Linked DNA regions of Homo sapiens: regions 2, 3, 4, 5, 6 and 7 are each linked to region 1. Evidence: promoter capture Hi-C in 16 types of primary human blood cells and fetal thymus (Javierre and others, 2016). All regions are on one chromosome and are shown on one strand. Each heading gives the region's core, a stretch centred on a gene start or on the middle of the fragment in contact. The rest is flanking DNA. Distances are from core to core; before and after follow the strand shown.

Evidence for each region. The method cuts DNA at HindIII sites, captures the fragments that hold promoters and counts their contacts. A CHiCAGO score of 5 or more calls a contact.
Region 2: a fragment that was not itself captured here is called in contact with the fragment with the promoter of LGALSL in region 1 in 1 of 17 cell types (activated CD4 T cells); the score reaches 5.4 in activated CD4 T cells.
Region 3: a contact is called between a fragment that was not itself captured here and the fragment with the promoter of LGALSL in region 1, in 1 of 17 cell types (neutrophils). The highest score is 6.8, in neutrophils.
Region 4: a contact is called between a fragment that was not itself captured here and the fragment with the promoter of LGALSL in region 1, in 2 of 17 cell types (neutrophils and megakaryocytes). The highest score is 5.7, in neutrophils.
Region 5: a contact is called between a fragment that was not itself captured here and the fragment with the promoter of LGALSL in region 1, in 8 of 17 cell types (M0 macrophages, total CD8 T cells, M2 macrophages and 5 more). The highest score is 7.3, in M0 macrophages.
Region 6: a contact is called between a fragment that was not itself captured here and the fragment with the promoter of LGALSL in region 1, in 8 of 17 cell types (M2 macrophages, neutrophils, activated CD4 T cells and 5 more). The highest score is 9.1, in M2 macrophages.
Region 7: a fragment that was not itself captured here is called in contact with the fragment with the promoter of LGALSL in region 1 in 2 of 17 cell types (M0 macrophages and neutrophils); the score reaches 5.2 in M0 macrophages.

The regions. Positions count from the first base shown.
Region 1 is chr2:64,452,238-64,455,783 of GRCh38, reverse strand. LGALSL (galectin like) reads right to left here and starts at 1,622. Exons shown (of 5, transcript NM_014181.3): 1 at 1,203-1,622; 2 at 369-440; 3 at 107-195. The coding sequence starts at 1,238. It overlaps LGALSL-DT (LGALSL divergent transcript), which reads left to right and starts at 906. Exons shown (of 3, transcript XR_002959392.2): 1 at 906-1,259. RefSeq lists silencers at 976-1,275, 1,366-1,435, 1,446-1,865. The HindIII fragment of the contact is 9,168 bases long and covers 1-3,546 here.
Region 2 is chr2:63,947,276-63,950,821 of GRCh38, reverse strand. It overlaps VPS54 (VPS54 subunit of GARP complex), which reads left to right. Exons shown (of 23, transcript NM_016516.3): 8 at 1,659-1,785; 9 at 3,332-3,439. Among named protein-coding and RNA genes, the nearest start is that of VPS54, 70 kb to the left of the region's middle. The HindIII fragment of the contact is 3,189 bases long and covers 190-3,378 here.
Region 3 is chr2:63,996,987-64,000,532 of GRCh38, reverse strand. The region is part of intron 1 of VPS54 (VPS54 subunit of GARP complex); the gene reads left to right. Among named protein-coding and RNA genes, the nearest start is that of VPS54, 21 kb to the left of the region's middle. The HindIII fragment of the contact is 9,532 bases long and covers 1-3,546 here.
Region 4 is chr2:64,015,861-64,019,406 of GRCh38, reverse strand. It overlaps VPS54 (VPS54 subunit of GARP complex), which reads left to right. Exons shown (of 23, transcript NM_016516.3): 1 at 1-469. Among named protein-coding and RNA genes, the nearest start is that of VPS54, 1.8 kb to the left of the region's middle. RefSeq lists a silencer at 1-565 and an enhancer at 726-795. The HindIII fragment of the contact is 2,409 bases long and covers 618-3,026 here.
Region 5 is chr2:64,876,928-64,880,473 of GRCh38, reverse strand. No RefSeq gene overlaps it. Among named protein-coding and RNA genes, the nearest start is that of LINC01800, 15 kb to the right of the region's middle. The HindIII fragment of the contact is 564 bases long and covers 1,522-2,085 here.
Region 6 is chr2:64,040,655-64,044,200 of GRCh38, reverse strand. No RefSeq gene overlaps it. Among named protein-coding and RNA genes, the nearest start is that of VPS54, 23 kb to the right of the region's middle. The HindIII fragment of the contact is 6,176 bases long and covers 1-3,546 here.
Region 7 is chr2:64,058,232-64,061,777 of GRCh38, reverse strand. It overlaps LOC124907774 (a long non-coding RNA gene), which reads left to right. Exons shown (of 2, transcript XR_007086337.1): 2 at 1,815-2,260. Among named protein-coding and RNA genes, the nearest start is that of VPS54, 41 kb to the right of the region's middle. The HindIII fragment of the contact is 2,461 bases long and covers 737-3,197 here.

The DNA.
Region 1 (3,546 bases), core at 373-2,872:
GCAACACTGTCCACAAGGAGAGGAAGAGGAGTGCTAAACCACAACAGAAGTGGGCAGGGCTCAGCCACAGCCTGATAGTTCTGTCCTGACAAAGACTCTGCCTTACCTCTCTGGGTTGAGGTCTACGATGCCCATCACTAACACCTTCTTGCCTGGTCTCATGCCACCTTTAATGTGCCCACAAAATGGAACTATCTGAAAAGGGTGGGAGAAGAAAAATGAATTTTACAGCCTGTTAGGGAAAAGCCAAGACCTCAGACCCTGAAGGCCTGACCCACTGGAAAATGCAATAAACAAATGAATAAAATTTTAAAAAGCAATGAGAAAGGAGGAAGGTACAGGCAGAGACACAGAGCAAAATCATTTACCAGTCGTGGGAAGTACACGTCCGCTTGAACTGGAGAGCTCAAAGAGTTGTTTAAATGGCCATCATCTAGTTTCTAAAAATAGAAGTACACAGATTGGCTTTCCATGGGCTCTTTTTTGGGGGGCTGGAGGAAGAACCCACACAGATGTGGTGGAATCCAGCAGCCTTCCACATGCACACAGTGTCTGCAGATGATGCCTCTTCACCGTCTCTTAGATAATCTCATCACCCCCGAACAAAACCCATCCTTTCCACCCGGTAGTTAAGCCTCTGAAGATCCGCAGACCCTTCAGATCCAGATCAAAATCAAGGTCGAGGTCCACCGAAGAGCCAGAGCCCCACGCCGGAGGAGGGCAGGCCCCTCTCCAACCGTAAACGCTTCTGGAAGCGCGGTGGGCCAGGCCTGTCCTTCGGGACGTGACTGAAGTGCAGCGGCCGTGCTCAACTTCTCTCGGGAGCCCCGGGCGCCGACCCATTTCCAAGGGGGAATCCCCGGTACGTCGGGGGCGGTGGCGGGGCGCGCGCCCCGGACACACTCACCCACGCGCACACCTGGCTGGCGGTTGCACGGCACAGAGGGGGCTGTCGGGCGTCCCTACCCGCCATCCTCCCCAAACTCCCTCCCCAGCCCAGAGCCCCGCAGCCCGGGAGCCTCTCCAGCCCCTAACACCGGCCGCGCGCAGCCAGCGGCTGCTAACAGGTACCGGGCGCCTTCCCACGCGCCGGGCGCCGGCCGGGCCTGCGGCTGCTCAGCACCCCAGCACTGCTGGAGCAGGCGGCGGCGGAGTGCGGGACGGCGGGGAGGGGCGCCTCGCGCGCGCCCTGCCACACTCACCACCACGGCATCGCTGTCGGCCACTGATCCCGCCATCTTCTTGCCCGGCGCGGCGGGGTACGTGGGACGCGGCGCGCGGGCGGGGATCCCGGGGCTGTCCTGCGCGGGGCGGGGGCGGGGGCGCGGGTCCGAGCTGGCGGCGGGCGCGCGCACACACGAGGGGGCGCGCGCGCGCGCGCCCGGGGCCCGGCGCCGACCTGGCAGGCAGAGCCTGGGAGGAGGGGAGGGGAGGGAGGCAGCGCGAGCTGGGAGGGCGAAGGTGCTTGCCGCGGCCCAGAACGGCCCCGGACCCGGGCCGACGGGGCTGCTTGCTGCCGCTGCCGCTGCCGCTGCCCGACCAAGAAAAGTGGCGAGGGCCGTGCCGCGTCGGCCCTGGGCAGCATTTAAAGGCCTCCGGGGCCCGGCTCGGGAACCGGGAACAGGGCGGGGACCCGGCGGGGCTGCCGCGGCTTGCTCAGCGGGCCCTGCCCCTCGGCCATTGGACGGTGGCGGAGGCCGGGGCGGGAGGGACGGGCCTGTCCGGGTCCGGGAGGGCGGGGGCCCTGTCGGCTCTCACCGGCCAGAGGGTGGGCAGGGCCGGGGCTGGAGAAGTGAGGGCCCGAGCCGGTCAGGTGACAGGTGCTCGTGCCACCCGCGCCCCTCCCTCCAGCCTCCTTCCTCCTGCCACGTCCTGGGCGCTGGTGGGGCGATGGGAGGCGAGGTCGAGGGAAGATTGGGTGCTGGGGGTGGTATTCCAGAGTGGGAGACTTGGCAGGATTTCTTTCAGAGAATTCCAACAAAATCGGGGGAAGGATTCATTCTGCTCTCTAGGGCAGAAAGAGAATGGAAGGTCTGAAGGCTTGCAGAAATAAATGTGTGACCTGAAAGAACGAAGCAGAGAGGACTCAAGGTAGGGACCTTTCTATCCCAGGAGGCTAGATACAGAAAGGTCGCTCTTCCCTGTGGAAGGACAGGCAGGTCTAGGGGTCCCTGGACTCTCTCGAGCAGGAGTCAAAGCCTTACCAAATCAAAGTGGGCGCAGTCACTGTCCTCAGAGAGCCTCCATTGAGCCCTGTTTTTAACAAGTCACTTGCCCAGTCTGGGGTAGTCAGCTTCTCACTGAAAATCTCCTCATACCCTTTGTGGAGTACTTCCCAGGGGATACACACCTCTTTTATTCAAGCCAGAAATTCCTTTATGGCATTTCCACACTAGGACGATTATGTAACTTCTCAGATAAAGCTGTATCAACATATCCTCTATTAGGTGACATCCTTGGCTGAAACATTCCATTGCATGAATCACCGGGGCGTTCTATGCTAATAAGCAGGGAGCATGTGTGACCTACTGCAGTCCCAGAGGGCCCCTCAGAGGCTCCTTTTTTTTTTTTTTTTTTTTTTTTTAAATTGAGACGGAGTCTCCCTCTGTGGCCCAGGCTGGAGTGCAGTGGCGCGATCTCAGCTCACTGCAACCTTCGCCGCCCGGGGAGGCTTCTTTCTTCTAGTCACTGCAATTGGCTGTGTGGCCTAGAACATCAATGTGGCTTTTGTGTCTTAGTTTTCCCTTTATGGACCAGAGCTAATGATGGTAATCTCAGTTGAGCAGGGAGAATTACCTGCACACGCCTGTAAGCCTCACTCATATCCTCTGGAAGTGGTTCTTGAACTAGATAGAGGCTAAAGCGCAGTACGCTTGTGGCTGCAGCACACTTTGTTTACCAGTCTTAGCTCAAAATCACACTTTATTACTTTAAAATGTTAGGCACTTATAGGAAATGATTGACATTTGAAAGCATACTTTAGTATGTATCAATTTCTGAGAGTCTGGTATAGAGAAGAAGCATTAAAGTGCAGTAGTTCTTTATCATTAACTGAGTGACACAATAAGGGTGACACTACATGTGATGGTGGTTAAAGAGCCGGTGTCTCGCGTTCAAATCCTGGCTCTACTATTCACTAGCTGTGTGATCTTGGAAAAATTACTAAACTTCTCTGTGCCTTAGTTTCTTCATCTGTGACTCAGAGATGACAATGATGATAATAATGCCTATCTCAGGTTATTGGGAAGATTAAGTAAATACCTTCCTTAAAACAGTATTGGGGACATAGTAAGCACTTATTATACCAAAATACTGAGTGCCTGCTGTATACCAGGCACTGGGGATCCAGCAGGCTACTTTTTTGCTGAGCTTACATTCTAGTGGGCAAAGGAAATCAATAAACAAAATATGTCGGGTGACAAAAGTGTTAGGAAAAAGTAATAAGGCCAGGTGCGGTGGCTCATGCCTATAATCCCAGCAATATAGGAGGCTGAGGCAAGAGGATCACTTGAGGCCAAGAGTTTGAGACAGGCCTGGGCAACACAG
Region 2 (3,546 bases), core at 535-3,034, 510 kb after region 1:
AATGCAGACAAAAGTGCCCTACTCTGGGGGAAAAAAAAAGCCACAAAGAACATTTATTAGCAAGGAAGAGATAGTGAGCACCAGGATTTAAGACAGGAAGGGATAGGCTATCTCTTACTGTTTTGTGCAAATGAAGTCAGGTTTCTGATCAGGACTGCCCTTATCTATAAAGCTGCTAACCCACAAGCTTCAAAGGGAGAAGATAAATAACAGCTGCCAGTCTTCTGCTTATACAACAAAAGACCTGGATGAGAACCCTTTTTCTGGATTGGTGCCATTAATGCTTTGTCTCTGAAGTCAGGAAGTACCTTGCCAATAAGAGACTGCCTTTTAAAGTACTTTTGGTGTTGAACAATGCCCCTGTCCACCCAGAACCCCATGAATTCAGCACCAGAGGCATTAAAATGATCTCCTTGCCCCAAACACAACATCTCTAATCTAGCTTCTAGATCAGAGAGTCATAAGTACCTTTACAGCTCATTACACACACTACTCTATGGAAAGGATTATCAGTGCTATGGAAGAGAACCCCGATAGAACATCACGAAAGTCTGGAAGGATTACACCATTGAAGATGCCGTCATTGTTATAGAAAAAGTTGTGAAGACCATAAAGCCCGAAACAATAAATTCCTGTTAGAGAAAACTGTGTGCAGATGCTGTGAGACAATCAAGGAAATCATGAAAGAGATTGTGGATGTGACAAGGGTGAGGAATGAAGGATTTCAAGATAAGAATCTTGGAGAAATTCAACAGCTAATAGGTACCACAACAGAGGAATTAACAGAAGATGACTTGACGGAGATGAGTGTTCTCAAACCAATGCCAGACAATGAGGAAAAAGAGATAGAAGCAGCAGTGCCAGAAAACAAGATGACATTAGACAATCTGGCAGCAGAGTTCCCATTATTCAAGACTTCCTTTGACTTCTTTTATGACATGGACTCTTCTATGGGCACTGAAACTAAAGCAAATGGTGAAAGAAGGATTGGTACCATATAGAAACAAACATTTTTAGAGAAATGCAAAAGTAAAGTCAGAAATTACAGTGCATTTCGGTAAAGTTATACTGAGTGTGCCTGCCTCTTCTGCCTCCACTTCCACCTCCTCTGCCACCCTTAAGATAGCAAGACCAACCTCTCCTCTCCCTCCTCCTCCTCAGCCTACTCAATGTGAAGATAACTTTTATGATGATCTGATTCCAGTTAATCAATAGTCAATGTATTTTCTTTTCCATAGGATTTTCTTAGTACCATATTTTCTCTAGCTTTATTGTAAGAATATAGTATATGGTACACATAATATAGAAAAGAATGTGTTCACTGACTTTATGTTATTGGTAAGGCTTCTGGTCAACATAAGCTATTAGTTAAATTTTTGGGGAGTCAAAAGTTATACACAGATTTCTGATTGCACTGGTGTTTGGTGCCTCTAACCCCCATGTTGTTCAAGGGTCAACTGTAAAGAGAAAAATGGAATTTAGAAGATGAAATGTTTGCAGTTATTTTGGTAAGTTAAAGGACTTCATTTTTTGAAAACATTGCATTATTGCACAGGTACTGTCAACTGAAAAAGTTTTACCTACTAGTTCCCTTGATTGTGGAGCGAATTTGTAGTTTTTAGTGAATATAAATATAACATTTTTCTCTTCCTTTTTAGGCATTTGGGATCACAGCTTTGTGAATTAGAAAAACTGATAGATAAAATGATGATTGCAGAATTTTCTACTTATTCTCACAGTGACTTAAATAGACCACTGGAAGATGACTGTCAAGTTTTAGAAGAGGTATGTGTTTTAACTGTGGAATGAAGTTGATGCCATTGCTTAACAGTCTTGGCTTAGAACACATTTTTCTCAGATTATAGGAATCAAAATTATCTTAAATTTCAAGGGCTATCAGACCTATGAAGTCCTTCACTAGCTATGTGACTTGAGCAAGCACCATGATTGTTCACTATCCTATGGAATTAGAGAATAAAATAATTGTATAGCTTAATTAGAAATTAGAGTTAAAATGAGCTTACAGACCAAGTTAAAAATACAGATATAGGATGAATTAATTTATATTCTGTGTTTATGTGTGCGAGTGCTGGAGCTTGTCTTTTATAAAAAGTGATCATAGTTGGGCGCATTGGCTCCATGCCTGTAATCCCAGCAGTTTGAGAGGCTGAGGTGGGAAGATTGCTTGAGCCCAGGAGTTTGAGACCAGCCTTGGCAACACAGGGAGACTCCATCTCTACGAAAAATAAAAAAATTAGCTGGGTGTAGTGGTGCATGCACACCTGTAGTCCCAGCTACTTGGGTGGCTAAGGCGAGAGGATCACTTGAGTCCAGGAGTTTGAGGCTGTTAGTGAGCCATGATTGTGACATAGCAAGACCCTGTCTCAAAAAAAAAAAAAAAAAAAAACCGAAAAAGTGATCATTATCATATGGTAATTACCCGTCATTCAAATTTACTGAGTACCTATTATGAACATGTTTTTTATATATGTATATACAAATACATAATATCCAGGCTTCACTTAGCTGGTAACTTCTCAGTGTTAATCACTGACAACAACTAGTAAAAAATCCCAGAAACCCTGATAACTGCCTAAGTAAAGAAACTTTTGTAGATGTTAGCAGTTGACTTCCCACTGTGAGAGTCTAGGTCATTATTTCAGTCTTCTAGACTATGCATTACAAAGCATGGGTGAGGTGCAGTGGGTCAGGCCTATAATCCAAGCACTTTAGGAGGCTGAAGCTAGAGGATCGTTTGAGCCCAGGAATTTGAGACCAGCCTGGGCAACACAGTGAGTCTACAAAACAAATTTAAAAATTAGCCAGGTGTGGTGGTGCATGCCTCTAGTCCCAGCTACTCGGGAGGCTGAGGTGGGAGGATCACTTGAGCCTGGGAGATCAAGGCTGCAGTGAGCTGTAATCACCTCACTACACTCCAGCCTTGGCAACAGAGTGGAACGCTGTCTCAAAACAAAGAAGCAAAAACCAAAAAAAACCCACAGGGCCCATGGAGTATTTATTGGTCATCAGGGTGTGAGAAGGATATTTTTTACTTGTTGAAACTAGAACAAAAAATACCCTTGTATTGTTTTGCCCGAAAACCAGCTTCATTGGTTCACTGTGGTGGGGTAGGATTTATCTGTTTTACAGCACTGACTCCAAAAATCTCATGATAAGATTGCTGTGGGAGGGGTTTTCAGGCTGCTAGAAAATACTTTGTGCAGGATAGAGATCTGAGGATCAAACAGAACTCTTGATGCTGAATATTTCTACCTCTAAGTAAAATTACTTCATATTTAAAATGTCAAGTTACATACTTTTATTTTAACAGGAAAGACTAATATCTCTTGTATTTGGACTTTTAAAACAAAGAAAGCTTAATTTTTTAGAAATCTATGGTGAAAAAATGGTTATTACAGCAAAGAATATCATTAAACAGGTAATTATGCATTTTTATTTGACATATTTTGGTCTGGAACCTTTGTGAAGTTTATTTTTATGTTATCCTAGTAATAATATATATAGTGTAATAGTAATATAGCTCAT
Region 3 (3,546 bases), core at 651-3,150, 460 kb after region 1:
TCCCAGGAAGGACAGGTACAGATAAGTCCAGACAGTGAAGACTACAATAAATAACTTCAATGTCCAGACACTGAAGAACATCTACACCCATCTACATCATCCAGGAAAATATGACCTCTCCAGATGAACTAAATAAGGCACCAGGGACTAATTCTGGAGAAACAGAGTTATGTGACCTTTCAAACAGAAATCAAAACAGCTGTGTTGAGAAAACTCAGAGAAATTCAAGATAACACAGAGATGGAATTCAGAATCCTATCAGATAAATTTAACAGATTGAAATAATTAAAAATAATTAAACAGATATTCTGGAGTTGAAAAATGCAATTGACATACTGAAGAATGCATCATAATGGCTTAAAAGCAGTTGATCGGCCGGGTGTGGTGGCTTATGTCTGTAATCCCATCAGTTTGGGAGGCTGAGGAGGGTGGATCATGAGGTCAGGAGTTCGAGACCAGCCCGGCCAACATGGTGAAACCCTGCCTCTACTAAAGATACAAAAAATTAGCCGGGCAAGGTGGCACATCCCTGTAATCTGAGCCACTTAGGAGGCTGAGGCAGGAGAATTGCTTGAACCTGGGAGGCAGAGGTTGCAGTGAGACGAGATCGTGCCATTGCACTCTAGTCTGGGTGACAGGGCGAGACTCCATCTCAAAACAAAAAACGGCAGTTGATCAAGCAGAAGAAAGAGTTAGTGAGCTTGAAGACAGGCTTTTTGAAAATACACAATCAGAGAAGACAAAAGAAAAAAGAATAAAAATAAGCACACCTACGGGATTTAGAAAGTAGCCTTGAAGGGGCAAATCTAAGAGTTATTGTCTGTAAAGAGGAGGTAGAGAAAGAGATAGGGGTAAAAAGTTTATTCGAAGGAATAATAACAGAGAACTTCTCAAACCTAGAGAAAGATATTAATATCCAAGTACAAGAAGGTTATAGGACACTAAGCAAATTTCACCCAGAGAGGACTAACTCGAGACATTTAATAATAAAATTCCCAAAGACAAGGATAAAGCAAGGATACTAAAAGGAGCAAGAGAAAAGAAACAACATACAATGGAGCTCCAATATGGCTGGCAGTAGACTTTTCAGTAGAAACCTTACAGGCCAAGAGAGTGGCATGACATGTTTCAAATGCCGAAGGAAAAAACCTTTTACCTTAGAATACTATATCCAATGAAAATATCCTTCAAACATGAAAGAGAAATAAAGACTTTCCCAGACAAACAAAAGCCAAGGGATTTCATCAGCTCCAGACCTGTCCTACAAGAAATGCTAAAGAGCTGGCCAGGTGCAGTGGCTCACACCGGTAATCCTGGCACTTTGGGAGGCTGAGGTGGGTGGATCAGCTGAGGTCAGGAGTTGAAGACTAGCCTGGCTAACATGATGAAACCTTGTCTCTACTGAAAAACAAAAATTAGCCAGGCATGATAGATAGTCCATGCCTGTAATCCCAGCTACTCAGGAGGCTGAGGCAGGAGAATCACTTGAACCTGGGAGGTGGAGGTTGCAGTGAGCCAAGATGGTGCCACCGCACTCCAGCCTGGGTGACAGAGTGAGACTCTGTCTTAAAAAAAGCTAAAGGGTATGTACTTCAATAAAAAAGAAAAAGATTAATAAGCAAAAAGATACCATCTGAAGATGTAAAACTAACTGGCAATATAAGTACACAGAAAATCATAGAATATTATAACATGATAACTGGTGTGTAAACTAGCCTTAATTAGAGAAATTAAAAGGGGCCAATAAAAAATTATAACTATAATTTTTTCAAGACATAAGGATAGTAAAATATAAATAGAAACAACAAAAAGCTATAAAGTGGGGGGACATAGTTAAAGTGCAGAGTTTTATTAGTTTTCTTTTTGCCTATTTATACAAGCAGTGTTAATTGTTATCTGCATAAAACAGTGGGTTATAAGATAGTATTTGCAAGCCTCATGGTAACCTCAAATCAAAAAACATGGAACAGATACACAAAAAATTAAGAAACCAAGACATTAAGTCATAACACCAGAAAAAAATCACCTTTACTAAGAGGAAGACAGGAAGGAAGAGAAGACTACGAAACAACCAGAAAACAAAAAACAAATGGCAGGAGTAAGTCGTTACTTATCAGTAATAATATTGAATGTAAGTTGACTAACTCTCCAATCACAAGACATAAAGAGGCTGCATGGATAGAAAAACAGGACCCAGTGATCTGTTGCCCACAAGAAACACACTTCACCTATAAAGACACACACAGACAAAAAAAGGGATGGAAAAAGATATTCTCTAGTAGTTATCAGACAAAATAGATTTCAAGACACAAACTATAAGAAGAGACAATGAAGGTCACCATATAATGATAAAGGGGTCAATTCAGCATAGGATATAACAATTGTAAATATATATGCACCTAACTATTGGAGCACTCATATATAAAGCAAATATTAGAGCCAAAGAAACAGGTTGGAAATAAAGAAGACAATTCAAATAATATCAAGCATCTTCTCTGACCACAATGGAATAAAACCAGAAATCAATATTAGGAATTCTGGAAACCATACAAACACATGGAAATTACATAATATGTTCCTGAATGACCAGTGAGTCAATGAAGAAATTAAGAAATTGAAAAATTTATTAATAATGGAAACATGACATACCAAAATCTATGAGGATACAGCAAAAATGATACAAAGAGGAAAGTTTATAGCTATAAGTGCCTACATCAAAAAGAAGAAAAACTTTAAATAAAAACCTAATGATGGATTTTAAAGAAAGGGAAAAGCAAGAGCAAGCCAAACAAAATTAGTGGAAAAAAAGAAATAACAAAGCTCAGAGCAGAGATAAATGAAATTGAAATGAAGAAACAGGACAAAAGATCAATAAAACGTTGGGTTTTTGAAAAGATAAAACAAAACAAAACAAAACAAAAACTGACACATCTTTTGCCAGACTAAGAAAAAAGAAGACCCCAAAAGATCAGAGATGAAAAAAGGAGATGCTAAAACCGATACCACAAAATTCAGAGGATTATTAGCGGCTACTGTGAGCAACTGTATGCCAATAAATTGCAAAATCTAGAAGAAATGGATAAATTCCTATATACGTACAATCTTCCAGGACTGAACCATGAAGAAACCCAGGGTGTGAACAGACCAATAACAAGTAATAAGATAAAAGTTGTGATGAAAAGTCTCCCAGTAAAAAGTCCAGAACCTGAATGGCTTCACTGCTGAATTCTACCAAACATTTAATGAGGGTCTAGTACCAATCCTACTCAAACTAGTCTGAAAAATAGGAGGAGGGAATACTTTAAAACTCATTCTACGAGGGCAGTATTACCCTGATACCAAAACCAAACAAAGACGCATCAGAAAACGAAACTGCAGGCCTATGTCTAACGGGGGAACCAGCCCCCTGTATTTCAACATAGGTTCTCTTCTATTTTCCCTAAGTGTCGGCCAGTCTGAGAAATAAAGGGAAATAGTACAAAAGAGAGAAATTTTAAAGCTGAGTGTCTGGGTGAGACATCACATGTCAGCAGGTTCCGTGATGCC
Region 4 (3,546 bases), core at 573-3,072, 440 kb after region 1:
GCGGCCTCCGGCGCTGTCTCCCCGCACCCGACCGGGCCGAGCCGGCTGGGCCGGCGGGGTGAGGGAAAGCAGTGGAGTCGGGAGCAGAAGCGCTAGAGGCAGTGGTCGTGGCGCGGCGGCGGCGGCTCCCCTGGAGGCCGGGGATGTGGGAGAGGCGGTGGCAGCAGCGGCGGAGGCGGCGCTGCGGACCCGGGGGAAACTGCTGGCTGACAGGACACCCGGGAGAGACGTGAGGGAGCCGCCGCTGCCACCTCTCACCCCTGAGTGAAGCTGGGCTCGAGAGGGCGGCCCTGTGCTCCCCGGGCCGACTGGCCAGCGGGCGCGGGGCGGGGGCGGGAACCCGGGCTCGGGCCCGGCCGGGCGCCGGGCGGCGGCGGCCGTGGAGCAGCAGCCTCGGTGCGACGTGGAGGGCTGGAGGCGGCGGCGATGCACTAGGCCTCGCTCAGGGCGGCTGCCCCGGGACCCGCAGGTAGGTGTGCCCCGCGGCCCCCCGCGCGTCTCAGCCCACTCTCACCCCGACCTACAGCGGAGAGAGGGACCGAGACCCCACCCCCTCGGCTCTCCTCCCCAGCCCCAAACGGACCGAGTTTCGGTCACAGCTGACCGGCACTGAAGCTTCCATGCTCCTCTCCGCCACTTCCTTTTTTTTTTTTTTTTTTCCTTTTCACTCTCCCTCCGGGATCGGGGCTGGCAGCTGTGTTCCCTGCCTCCTGTCAGCGACCGCAAACGCCGCTCTTGCCCCTCTCTTATCTTTCCGGGATCCCAGCTCTGGAACTTCCATCACCCCCTTAGACGCTGCCCCCAAACTTTCCTTTTCTTTTTCCAGCCAGGCCCTTAGTCCTATTGGATTCTACTGGAATCGTTAAAACATTTGTTTGTTTTTCTCTCCGGGGAAGGCTAACCCAAAGAGTTACTCAGTATTTTGCATTTTGGCAATGTAGCTTGAAATAATTTGTGCAATAATTTTCTTCAGTTCTGCCTCCTTCCATCTCTGCATAGACAGAAAGGGCAGGCCCTCTCTGCCGTTTCTGCTCTCCCGTCGTTGACTTGGGAACTTTGGCTTGCCAATTATAATTAGCCGTTTGGTCTGTTCATGTGTTGAGTTCAAGATGGTATTTTTAGCATTTTGACTGACAGGCGTTTCAAAAAAAAATTTTTTTCTTCTAACCAGCTTTATTTTTTGGTCTTTATTGAGGCTCTTTCGAAGAATTAAATTGTTTGGACTGTTTTTGTTTTTAATTGGCTGTATTTCTGATTTGTCAAATCAAGGGCGGTCTTAATACTAAACGCCTTTAAGTAATACCGTGATAAATTACTTGTAGTATACCGAGAAATATTACTGCGATAACCTAAACTGCAGATTTTGATGTACATTCACTTTTATAAATCCGAAGGGGAGTTCTAATTGGAAAAAGCACCTTCAGAGCCTAAATGATTTCTAAGCAGTTAAATGATGGAACAGAGGGAATGATGGGATTTGTTTGACTGTATTTGTAGTGTAGTCAGAATCGGATTTCCTAGAAATGGATGTTGATGGTTCGTAGTGCTCATCATTGCTTATGATAGGTTACCAGTAGCTGTAATTGATAGTTGTTTGGGACGACAGTAGATGTTTGCGATTTTATTGTAATTTGGCTATTTTTAAATTATGTTCTGATAACTTAAGAATTATTACACTACCAATCTAAGAGGCAGTCTGAGGATCACTTTTTTAAATAAATGAAAAATGTTTTAATGGGTTTTTAAAATAAAGAATGCATCACAACCAAATCGTAAAGACTGTTTTGTTGTTGATATTCGTATATTTTGTTCTTGTAGAAGTATTGTTACTACAGCATTTGGCTTTCTGAAGTGTTTTTGAAATTAGAATTTAATACTAAAAGTTTACTAGGAAAAGGTGATTACTTTTGCATATGCTTATATTTTCTGGAAAGTTAAAATTGATTTCTGGATAAGATAATTTTTTGTGTCAGAATTAAAGTCAATTCCTATATAGCCCATGAAACGGCAAATTTTGCAGAATTTCTTCATCACACTCTTTTTTTTTGTTTCTTTTCTTTTTTTTTTTTTGAGACGGGGTCTTGCTCTGTTGCCCAGGCTGGAGTGCAGTGGCGCTATCTTGGCTCACCGCAACCTCCGCCTACCGGCTTCAAGTGATTCTTCTGCCTCAGTCTCCTGAGTAGCTGGGACTACAGGCGCCCCCACGCCTGGCTGATTTTTGTATTTTTAGTAGAGACGGGGGTTTCACCATATTAGCCAGGCTGGTCTTGAACTCCTGACCTTGTGATCCACCGGCCTCGGCCTCCCAGAGTGCTGGGATTAGAGGTGTGAGCCACCGCCCCGGCCCCGGCCCATCACACTCTTTTTTTTTTTTTTTTTTTTTTTAATCAACAAAAGTTAATTACAATTCCTCTTTCCTGCTCTTTGCTTTTTAAAAACTGCTTTATTGAGATAAAATTAACATACCATAAAATACACCCATTTAAGGTGTACCACTTGGCCGGGTTCAGTGGCTCACACCTGTAATCCCACCACTTTGGGAAGCCTAGTCAGGTAGATCACCTGAGGTCCAGAGTTCGAGACCAGCCTAGCCAACATGGTGAAACCCCGTCTGTACTAAAAATATATAAATTAGCCGGGCATGGGGGTGAGCGCCTGTCATCCCAGCTACTGGGGAGGCTGAGGCTGGCGAATCGCTTGAACCTGGGAGGTGGAGGTTGCAGTGAGCCAAGATAGCACCACTGCACTACAGGCTGGGTGACAGAACGAGACTCCATCTCAAAAAAAAAAAAAAAATATACAATTCAGTGGTTTTTAGATTAAATAATTGTGCAACCATCACCATAATCTAATTTTAGAACATTTTCATCATTCCCTCAAAAAACCTTTATCCATTAACAGTTACTCCCCATTCTCTTCACCCCACCCCCAGCTTTAGGCAACCACTAGTCTACTTTCTGTCTCAATATTGGCCTAATGTGGGCCTTTCATATAATGCTTCTTGGCTCATAGCTTCTTGAAAAGCTTTTCCTTTAAAATCAGTGTACATGTTAAAATTTTTTATTTGAGCTAGGGAATAAGCAACTGATCACCAATATTAAAAGTGATGTTGTAAATAACTGATACACTTTTTGGTTGTATTCAGCATAAAGTTGGAGAAGGCATGAATGGCTTCAGTAACCTCAAGAGGTAGTTTGGTCAGCTCGGAATCAATAAGTAAAAGTGGGCATTTTTGTCATTGAATATTAGAATATCAGGGAAAAGATCTTAAAGGTCATCAGCTTACTTCCTGCTTACCTCGCTATTAGTTGGCAGCAACCAGATGAGGAAACATGGAGATTAGAAGCTTGAATCTCTAGGATGTGTGGCTCAAGAACCACAGCGTGGCCATGTAAAGCAAGAAATGGGACTTTGGAAGTTAGAATTGTTTAGATTCTTGTATATATGTATGTATTTGACATTTTGCTAGCAGAGCTGAGAAAGAACTGGACATTCCCCCAACTTTGGGGGAAAAGTGGGTGACTATATGTAGCTACATTGATGAAA
Region 5 (3,546 bases), core at 554-3,053, 420 kb before region 1:
GACCCTGGCATAGGCAGACGCTTCCCTCTGAGCCAGCCCATCCCTGTCTCCCTTTCTGTATGGACATCCTTTCTTCCTCCCTCCTGGCAGCAGGCTGAAGCAGCAGCATCGGCACACAGGAAACACACAGCCTCTCACCCTGGCCCTGCTGGGGATCCATTAGGCCAGGCTGCCCAGATCACGGTGGCGAGATTGGAGACTCAAGTTGGGGTGGCGGCTGTGAAATCGAGCACGCCTCCCAGGCTGCTTCGTCAGAAGCCATTTAGGCCTAACTGACTTAGAAAAGGGAGGCTGTTCTGGGAATCAAAATCTAGCTTCCCAGAGTTTTCTCTGCACTGGAGTTGGGGGCCCAAGCCCCAGATAATAGTGTTACAGACATTACATGCCATTTGCTCATGGGAGCCTTCTCAGCACATATATTCCTTGGGAACCTCACGGGACCAAACTGCTTGGATTCAACTCCCATTTCCTAATCAGTTGTGTGGCCTTGGGCAAATTACTTAACCTCTCGGTGCCTCAGTTTTCTCATCAGTAAAATGGGCGTAAGGTCATTGTCTTAATAAATTTACACACGTACAGCACTTTGGGCCACAGTTGGTTCATGGCTAGCACTAAACTAATGTTAGCTGTCGCCACTCCCACCTAAGGCCAGTCCCTCCAGGAACCTGACACTTTTGGTGTTCCATCTCTTCTTCTCAACCATATTCCTGTCATGGTGGGTAGCACCCCTGTTCATCCAGTTGAGCCAGCCACAAGCCTAGAGGTCACCCCACTCCCCATCCCCACAAACCGTCATCAAGTCTCATCAACCTTATTAACTTCCTTAAAAACTTCCAGATCTGTTCCCCTCTGTCCTACTCTACAACTTCTCCCCAGAGCTAGCCCAGTAGCCCCCAAGTACAACCATCCCAGCCACTACCCATTTCCACCCTGCGGCCAGAGTCCTGCTTTGAAATGCAGACCTGATCTTGTCACCCCTCCCTGGACTCGCCCTGCTGAAATCTCTTAATGACTTTCCACTCCTCTTGGGGTGAAAATCAAAACCCTAACACCATGCAGACTGAGTCTGTTAGAATATTTTTGACCCTGAGGATCAGAAACCCTAGCAAACCAGATTTAAATTACAGGCAGTTTATTAGCTTCCTCACAGGTAGACTGGATAGGGTGGGCTTCAGGCATTGTATGATTAAGGCTCTAGGAACACGTCCTGCTATTCTCTCAGCCCCGCCTTCGTCTCCAGGTGCCAGCTTTGTTCACGGTTCAGCTAGCATTCTTTTGATCAATATCAAGTGAAACACTTCCAGAGAAAAAAGGGAACATCCTGCCCAGCCATGAAATAAAACTCCTTCCTGTCAGCCTGAGTGAGCCAGCTGAGGCCATGTGCCCATTCCCAACCAAAAAATTCCTAGTGACATGCGTACACTGAGTCCTTCCATGCTCTGCCTCTGGTGGGAAATGGGTTCTTCGGGACAAAAACACATTGAAATCATGCTGAAAGATACAACTAGTATTAAAAAAGCTTTGCTTGAATGATGCACAACTCTGAAGAATATGGAAGAGATAACCATGAACCTTATAGCTCCCCACTGTTCTCAATGACGGATCTAGGATCACAGGTTCCCAGGGCCTTGACCCCATGGAGATGAGCAGCAAGAGCCAAGGGCTGGAGCACCAAGGGAGGACAAAAGGTGAGGGGCTTGCTGGCCTCAGAGGAGACTCAACGGATGTGATGGAAAAAACAAGAACGTGCTGCCGTAGCGTCTTCTGCACCCGGGCTGGGTTCTCAGCCTGCTAATTGTTTTCTTTCTGAAAATGGACTAGCCACCACAAGACTTGAAAGCAGGGACTCGAACCGCTATTTGTACATTGATAGTCACAGCAGCACTATTCACAGCAGCCTTTTGGTGAAGCCTTTTGATTCACCTTTTGGTGAAAACAACCCAAATGTCCATCTACGGAGGACTGGATAAACAAACTGTGTTGTACACATATGATGAAATATTATTCAGCCTTGAAAAGGAAGAAAGGAATGAAATTCTAACACGTGTTAAATAAAATTGATAGGCCATTTTTTTGGGCTAAGCTTCTGCACTAGGTCCCAGTAAGACCAGAGTTAAAGTCAAAATGGAGTCACCCATGCTAAAGTTTCACATCACTAAACCTAAATTATTATCTATAGTTCTGAGAAATCAGGAGAGAGAGATAACAGCCAATTTCCCAAACAGGCCAGCTTCAATCTTCAATAGACAGGATAATGAAGTTCCCTCTGCCTTAATCCTTGCACACAAAAGGTAGCCTGGCATAACCTGAGGTTCACTGATCAGTGATTTTTCTATTTTTTCGATCTCCTTGTCTGTGCCTTACAAGGAAAGTAGCTTTAAGTGACTAATACACTTGGCTCTTTGCTTCCACTCCCGCTAGTTCTTTTCTGTCTGTAAGGCCAACCTCTCTGCTCAGCTCATCGGAACATGTATTTTTTTTTTTTTTTTTTTTTTTTTTTGAGACAGAGTCTCGCTCTGTCACCCAGGCTGGAGTGCAATGGCTCTATCTCAACTCACTGCAACCTCCACCTCCCAGGTTCAAGCGATTCTCATGTCTCACCTCCCAAGTAGCTGGGATTACAGGCCCATGCCACCAGGCCCAGCTAATTTTTGTATTTTTTGTAGAGACAGGTTTTCATCATGTTGGCCAGGCTGGTCTCAAACTCCTGACCTGAAGTGATCCACCCGCCTCAGCCTCCCAAAGTGCTGGGATTACAGGTGTGAGCCACTGCGCCCGGCCCAAAACATGTATTCTGTTTTATGGAATGAAGTATTGCCCAATTTTAGAATCACAAATAAAGTCAGTTAAGATCCTTAAACTGGATTCGTTGTAATTTTGTGTTTTGACATATGTTACAACATGGACAAACCTTGAACATATTATAATAAGTGAAATAGGCCAGACACAAAAGGACAAATATTGGATGATTCCACTTACATGAGCTACCTAAAGCAGCCAAATTCATAGAGACAGAAAGTAGAACGGTGGTTGCCAGGGTTGGGATGGCAATGGGAGGCAGAGCGAGGAGTTATGCACCCAGTTTCAGAGTGTGGGATGGTTAAAAAGTCCTAGCCATGGCGTGGTGGCTCACGCCTGTAATCCCAGTACTTTGGAAGGCCGAGGTGGGTAGATTGCTTGAGGTCAGGAGATTGAGACCAGCCTGGCTAACATGGTGAAACTCTGTCTCTACTAAATATACAAAAATTAGCCAGATGTGGTGGCATGTGCCTGTAGTCCCAGCTACTCGAGAGGGTGAGGCAGGAGAATTGCTTGAACCTGGGAGGCAGGAAGCTGCAGTGAGCCGAGATCATGCCACTGCACTCCAGCCTGGGCAATAGAGTGAGACTCTGCCTCAAAAAAAAAAAAAAATTCTAGTGCTGGAAGATATTGATGGTTGCACAATGGGAATGAACTTACTGCCACTGAATTGCATCGCTGGGAAATGGTTAAATGGTAGATTTTATGTTATGTATATTTATCACACAGAAAAAAATAGATCAGCCA
Region 6 (3,546 bases), core at 476-2,975, 410 kb after region 1:
AAGAAAACAACCCAAATACCCATTAACAGTAGAGTTAAAATCTATGGTATATTAATACAATGAAATACTCTAGAGAGTCTTCATAGCATATAGATAATCTACATACTAGATTATAGTAAATACGGTATGTATGAACAAACCACTGCTACACATGACAACATGGATAAGTCTGACAAACAAAATGTTGAGTAAAGTGAGCCAAACACCAAACAATGTGATACCATTTATATATGTAAAGTTTGTAATGCAATTCTATGTACATAAAGTTCAAAAATAGGAAAAACTGATTCAAACTGATAGAAGTCAAGATAGTGCTTAACTTTGAGTAGTGACTGCAAGAAGATGAAAAGGGGGCTTCTAGAGTGTGGTAATATTCTATTTCTTAATATGGGATGTGGTTATATGAGTGTTTTCATTTTGTGAAAATTATTTGAGCAATATAGATATATTTTTAGACAGGGTCTTACTCTGTTACCCAGGCTGGAGTGCAGTGGTGCAATCGTAGCTCATTGTAGCCTCAAACTCCTGGAACTCAAGGGATCCTCCCACCTAGGCCTCCCAAAGTGCTAGGATTACATGCATCTGGCTGAGCCATATATTTTAATGTATATATTACACATCAATAAAATGGCCTTACCTGTTAGAGAAACATTAAAATATTAATGAATGAAATGGTATGATACTTGAGATTTTCTTAGAAAACTTCAGAAAAATAATTAGGCATGGGATAGATGAAACAAAAATATAGACTGCTAATAATTCTTCAAGCTGTGATAGTTACATGAAAGTTCACTATTCTACTCTCTCTACTTTTGTGTTTTGGAAGAATGTTTTTATAATAAAAAGCTACAAAAAAAACCCACAGGTACAATTTTAGTCTTAGTGTAGAAAAGGACATAAAACCCAAAAGTCATAAATGAAAAAAATGTTGATGGCTTTAGCATCCATTCCAGCTCCCTTCCTCCCTGCCTTCCATTGTAAAGGCTACAAAGTGAAATGTTGGCATTGCTAGCCCCCTGGCACTGAGCCTGTCCATATGACCCTTAATGCTAGTTAATGAGATTTAGGCAGAAATATATTCTGCCTACATACATAAGCAATACAAATCAAAATCACAATGAAGTGCCATCCATTTTTCACCTATTAGATTGATAATGATAAAAAATTTGTCACTCCCAACTGTTGTTGACAGTTTGAAGACACATTCTTCTACACTATTGGTGGAAATATAAGTTCATATAAAATCCCTTGGAAGAGTAATTTGGAAGTATCTATCGAAATTTTCCTGAAAGCAACAGCAACATTTGAATGGTAAGAGCAAGAATGGAAAGGAAACAACAGATATGAAGCCTAAGTAGAGTCTAATTTAATTAATTTGTTGACTGAATATGGAGGAAAGGGTCAAACATTACTAGGGGCATTCATAGAAATAAGGAAGTCATACGCACTTGTTCAGGCAAGCACTTAATAATTCAGTTTTTCTGTTACTGCACAATGAAGACAATTTTTTAAATTCTCTCTAGGTCCAGAATCTAGATGTTAATACATATGTTTATATAGAAGATTTGTAATTTCATCAAGTATTAATCTAGGAACTCAAAAGGAAGGAAACAGAATGCCACTTAGCCTTAGCTACAAGTAGGACCTACTCATAAAGAAAACACACTTCAGCTCTCCCTCTCCCTCTCCCTCTCCCCCTCCCCTTCCCCCTCCCTCTCCCTCTCCACGGTCTCCCTCTCCCTCTCTTTCCACAGTCTCCCTCTGATGCCGAGCCGAAGCTGGACTGTACTGCTGCCATCTCGGCTCACTGCAACCTCCCTGCCTGATTCTCCTGCCTCAGCCTGCTGAGTGCCTGCGATTGCAGGTGCGCGCCGCCACGCCTGACTGGTTTTCGTATTTTTTTGGTGGAGACGGGGTTTCGCTGTGTTGGCCGGGCTGGTCTCCAGCTCCTAACCGCGAGTGATCCGCCAGCCTCAGCCTCCCGAGGTGCCGGGATTGCAGACGGAGTCTGTTTCACTCAGTGCTCAATGGTGCCCAGGCTGGAGTGCAGTGGTGTGATCTCAGCTCGCTACAACCTCCACCTCCCCGCCGCCTGCCTTGGCCTCCCAAAGTGCCGAGATTGCAGCCTCTGCCCGGCCGCCACCCCGTCTGGGAAGTGAGGAGCGTCTCTGCCTGGCCGCCCATCATCTGGGACGTGAGGAGCCCCTCTGCCTGGCTGCCCAGTCTGGAAAGTGAGGAGCGTCTCTGCCTGGCCGCCCTCCCATCTAGGAAGTGAGGAGCGCCTCTTCCCGGCCACCATCCCATCTAGGAAGTGAGGAGCGTCTCTGCCCGGCCACCACCCCGTCTGGGAGGTGTACCCAACAGCTCATTGAGAAGGGGCCATGATGACAATGGCGGTTTTGTGGAATAGAAAGGGGGAAAAGGTGGGGAAAAGATTGAGAAATCGGATGGTTGCCGTGTCTGTGTAGAAAGAAGTAGACATGGGAGACTTTTCATTTTGTTCTGTACCAAGAAAAATTCTTGTGCCTTGGGATCCTGTTGATCTGTGACCTTACCCCCAACCCTGTGCTCTCTGAAACATGTGCTGTGTCCACTCAGGGTTAAATGGATTAAGGGCGGTGCAAGATGTGCTTTGTTAAACAGATGCTTGAAGGCAGCATGCTCGTTAAGAGTCATCACCACTCCCTAATCTCAAGGACCCAGGGACACAAACACTGCGGAAGGCCGCAGGGTCCTCTGCCTAGGAAAACCAGAGACCTTTGTTCACTTGTTTATCTGCTGACCTTCCCTGCCAAATCCCCCTCTCCGAGAAACACCCAAGAATGATCAATTTAAAAAAAAAAAGAAAGAAAACACACTTCAAATAGTGGTAAAAGACTTTTTTTTGCCTGGCCAACTGGCAAAGTTTTTTTTTTTTTTTTTGGGACGGAGTCTTGCTCTGTCACCCAGGCTGGAGTACAGTGGCTCAATCTCAGCTCACCGCAACCTCTTCTTCCTCAGTTCAAGTGATTCTCCTGCCTCAGCCTCCCAAGTAGGTGGGACTACAGGCGCCCGCCACAACACATGGCTAATTTTGTACTTTTAGTAGAGACGAGGTTTCACCATATTGGCCAGGGTGGTCTCAAACTTCTGACCTTGTGATCCGCCCATCTCAGCCTCCCAAAGTGCTGGGATTACAGGCATGAGCCACTGCGCCTGGCCAAAGATTTTAAAAAATAACCTAGATTAGCAAAGATGCAGAGAAATGGGTACTGTCATATACTGCTGGTGGGAGTGTGAGTGATTACAACTTTTGGAAGACAATTTTACAGTAGATAGCAAAAACTTTTTAAAAATGTTAGGTCTTTTGATCCAGCAATTCCAACTCTATCTGAAAAGTATATGCAGATATGTTTAAAATAATTTTTTAATCAAAGTAATATATGCACATCGTTGGGTTTTTTTGTTCTGTTTTGTTGTTGTTTTTAGAGAAAAGGTCTGGCTATGTTGCCCAGGCTAGCTTCAAACTCCTGGGCTCAAGAAATCCTCCCAACTAGCCCCAGCCTC
Region 7 (3,546 bases), core at 718-3,217, 390 kb after region 1:
AAGGCTAGTCTAGAAACCAGGGGTTAGAAGCCTCAGAATGGCTTATACCCTTAGGCCCTAAGGAGTGATGATCAGAACCTGGAAAGGGAGTGTCATTTGGAGGAGACCACCTTGAGAGGAGCAGTGACCTTTACTCAAGGGACACAAGGCCGGGCGCGGTGGCTCACGCCTGTAATCCCAGCACTTTGGGAGCCGAGGTGGGTGGATCACAAGGTCAGGAGTTCAAGACCAGCCTGGCCAAGTTGGTGAAACCCCGTCTCTACTAAAAATACAAAAAAAATTAGCCAGGCGTGGTGGCACGTGCCTGTAATCCCAGCTACTCCGGAGGCTGAGGCAGAGAATTGCTTAAACCTGGAGGGGTGGGGGTTGCAGTGAGCCGAGATTGCGCCACTGCACTCCAGCTGGGGTGACAGAGTGAGATTCCATCTCAAAAAAAAAAAAAAAAAAAAAAAAAAGAGTGATCAAGGGACACAAACAGCTAGAGTCAACCTCTCTAGGAAAAAGCCAAGGAAATAAAAACTTTGATCTTGCACTTCTCGCTTTTCTGCCAGAGCTCCTCATTGGCCAAAACTAACTTGAAGCCAAAGGGAGATGGAGCATATTCACATTAGTGGGGCAGAGGGGGAGGTAGAAAAGGGTGGAGAGGAATCTGGAGGAGCATAATGACACCCCCATTCACTCCACAAGAAGCGCTGAGGAAGAGCCATCCACATCTCTCCCTTTCCCACTGCAAGCTTTCAGAGTGAAGCAGTCTTGGGCTGGAAGAGTGGAGAGGATGTATCCTTAAAATCAGATTTGGAGTATTGATTAATATCTTACCAGATTTGGAGTGTGTGTATTTATATATATATGTGTATATATATACGTGTGTGTGTGTGTGTGTGTATGTGTGTGTGTGTGTGTATATATATATATTTCTTTTTTTTTTTTTTTTTTTTTTTTTGAGATGAGAGTCTTGCTCTGTTGCCTAGGCTGGAGTGCAGTGGTGTGATCTCGGCTCACTGCAACCTCCACCTCCCGGGTTCAAGCGATTCTCCTGCCTCAGCCTCCTGAGTAGCTGGGATTACAGGTGTGTGCCACCACGCCAGGCTAATTTTTGTATTTTTAGTAGAGACAGGGTTTCACCATGTTGGTCAGGCTGGTCTCGAACTCCTGACCTTGTGATCCACCCACCTTGGCCTCTCAAAGTGCTGGGATTACAGGTGTCAGCCACCGCACCCAGCCTGATTAATATCTTACACTGGACATTCTAATCTCCGTATCAAGACTGTGTTTGTAATTGAAAGTGATAGTCTATAGTGATAGCAATCATTATAAGCCAGAAAATTTAAGGGCTTGCCAGAATTTTCATACTAGAACATATCTATAGATGTCTAGATAGATAGATGGATAGACTTTATATATGCAAAGGGAAAATAGGGACAAAAATAAAGTTGCTTTTTTTTTTTTTTTAATTGAGACAGGGTTTTGCTCTGTCACCCAGGCTGGAGTACAGTGGCACAATCTCAGCTCACTTGGCTCACAGCCTCGACCTCTGGGCTCAAGTGATCCTCCCACCTCAGCCTCCTGAGTAGATGGGACTACAGGCATGCACCACCACACTGGCTAAGTTTTACATTTTTTTGTAGAGACGAGGTTTCACCATGTTACCCAGGCTAGTCTTGAACTCCTAGGCTCAAGTGATCCACCCGCCTTGGCCTCCCAAAGTGCTACAATTACAGGCGTGAACTGCTGTGCCCAGCCTAAAGTTGCTTTTTTATTACATCAGAGAATTCTTATTCAACATAATGTTTTCCAACTTTCTCACTTTACAGGCAATGAAACTGAATCCGAGAGAGCTTGATTCACATACCCCATCTCAGCAAGCCACTTCACACCAAAATCCAAACTAGAAGCATAAATCGAGGCATCTATAGGACATGCCACTGTGGGCTTATGCAAGAAGTTAGCACTGTTGCAAATTTCAAAAAAGGTCTAAGGCAAAATTTTAAACAAGGTCTATGAGCTATCTTTGCTGTATCGCTTGGCAGCAGACATTACCCTTAGGTCGTGTGGTATCTGGTAGTTGGAGAAGTCTCACTGGCCAAGCCAGGCTTCCTTGTTACAGTGACTTATACCTCTCCTCTGAGGTTTAGACCTTAGTTCTGTGATACAGAAATTCAATTTCATCTTTTCACCCAAGAATAATCAGGTTCCAATGAATTGATCTACTTGTCAACCTCACAAACAGAGTTACTGGTAAATAAAAATGTTCATTCAATTATGCTGAGAAATGTTACTGTCAAAGAAATAAGACTGATATCAGCTAGTCAGCATATTCTCTGGCTGAATTGTTTGGAGGGAAAATATAGATAAATCAGACATTCATTTTCATTCTCAAGAAAATAACTTCAAGTGTAAGTCCCACTGACAGTGGGTCAAAGACATAAACTTCACACATAAATGACAACATATAATAACAATTTGCTTTACTAAGCATATGCTCTGCATTTTTTTTTTTTTTTTTTTGAGATGGAGTCTCGCTCTGTTGCCCAGGCTGGAGTGCAATGGCGCAATCTCAGCTCAGTGCAAGCTGCACCTCCCAGGTTCATGCCATTCTCCTGCCTCAGCCTCCCGAGTAGCTGGGACTAAAGGCATCTGTCACCACGCCCAGCTAATTTTTTTGTATTTTTAGTAGAGACAGGGTTTCACCGTGTTAGCCAGGATGGTCTCGATCTCCGGACCTCGTGATCCGCCCGCCTCGGCCTCCCAGGTTCAAGCGATTCTCCTGCCTCAGCCTCCTTAGTAGCTGGGATTGCAGGCATATGCCACCATGCCCAGCTAATTTTGTGTTTTTGGTAGAGATGGGGTTTCTCCGTGTTGGTCAGGCTGGTCTCGAACTCCCAACCTCAGGTGATCTGCCTGCCTCAGCCTCCCAAAGTGCTGGGATTACAGGCGTAAGCCACAGCGCCCAGCCATGCCCTGCATTTTTACAAATTCCTTGGTGTTTTGAGGTGCATCCTCCATAGTGTGGTAAAACCTTGGCATCATAAAACTTTGGTTAGACAGAAATTAATTAGAACACTTCATTTAAAAGAATTTCTTTGATGCATCAACTTCTTTCCTCTCAGCTCCAAATCTCTGCACTGCTCTGTTCTGTGATGCTGGAGCTGGGCCCTGTAAACATTTCTCCTTTGCAGCTGGCAGAATGTTAAGCTTTGTCTACAGGGCTGGGAGGCCACTGCAGGAGGAAAGTGCTTCTCTCTTCTTTGTTCCCATGTGATTTTCCTTCTCTTGGGGTACTTGGCAGCCAGTGGGTGCAGGAATCCCAAAAGTGCTCAGCTGCCCAGGGAGTCTCACAGGCAACCCGGAAGGTGGTTTCTTGCATCCTGACGCTGACTTGCAGAACCTCGGTGAACTTCTTTACCATCTAGGAGGTGATAGCTACATCCGAGTGAAGTGACTCCAGTGAAGTCAGTCTTGAAGAGAGGGCTCTTCCGAATTTGTTCCTTCCTTGGGTACTCAGCCATAGCCCTGGGGCAAGCATTCTCAGTGGGGGTGAAAATT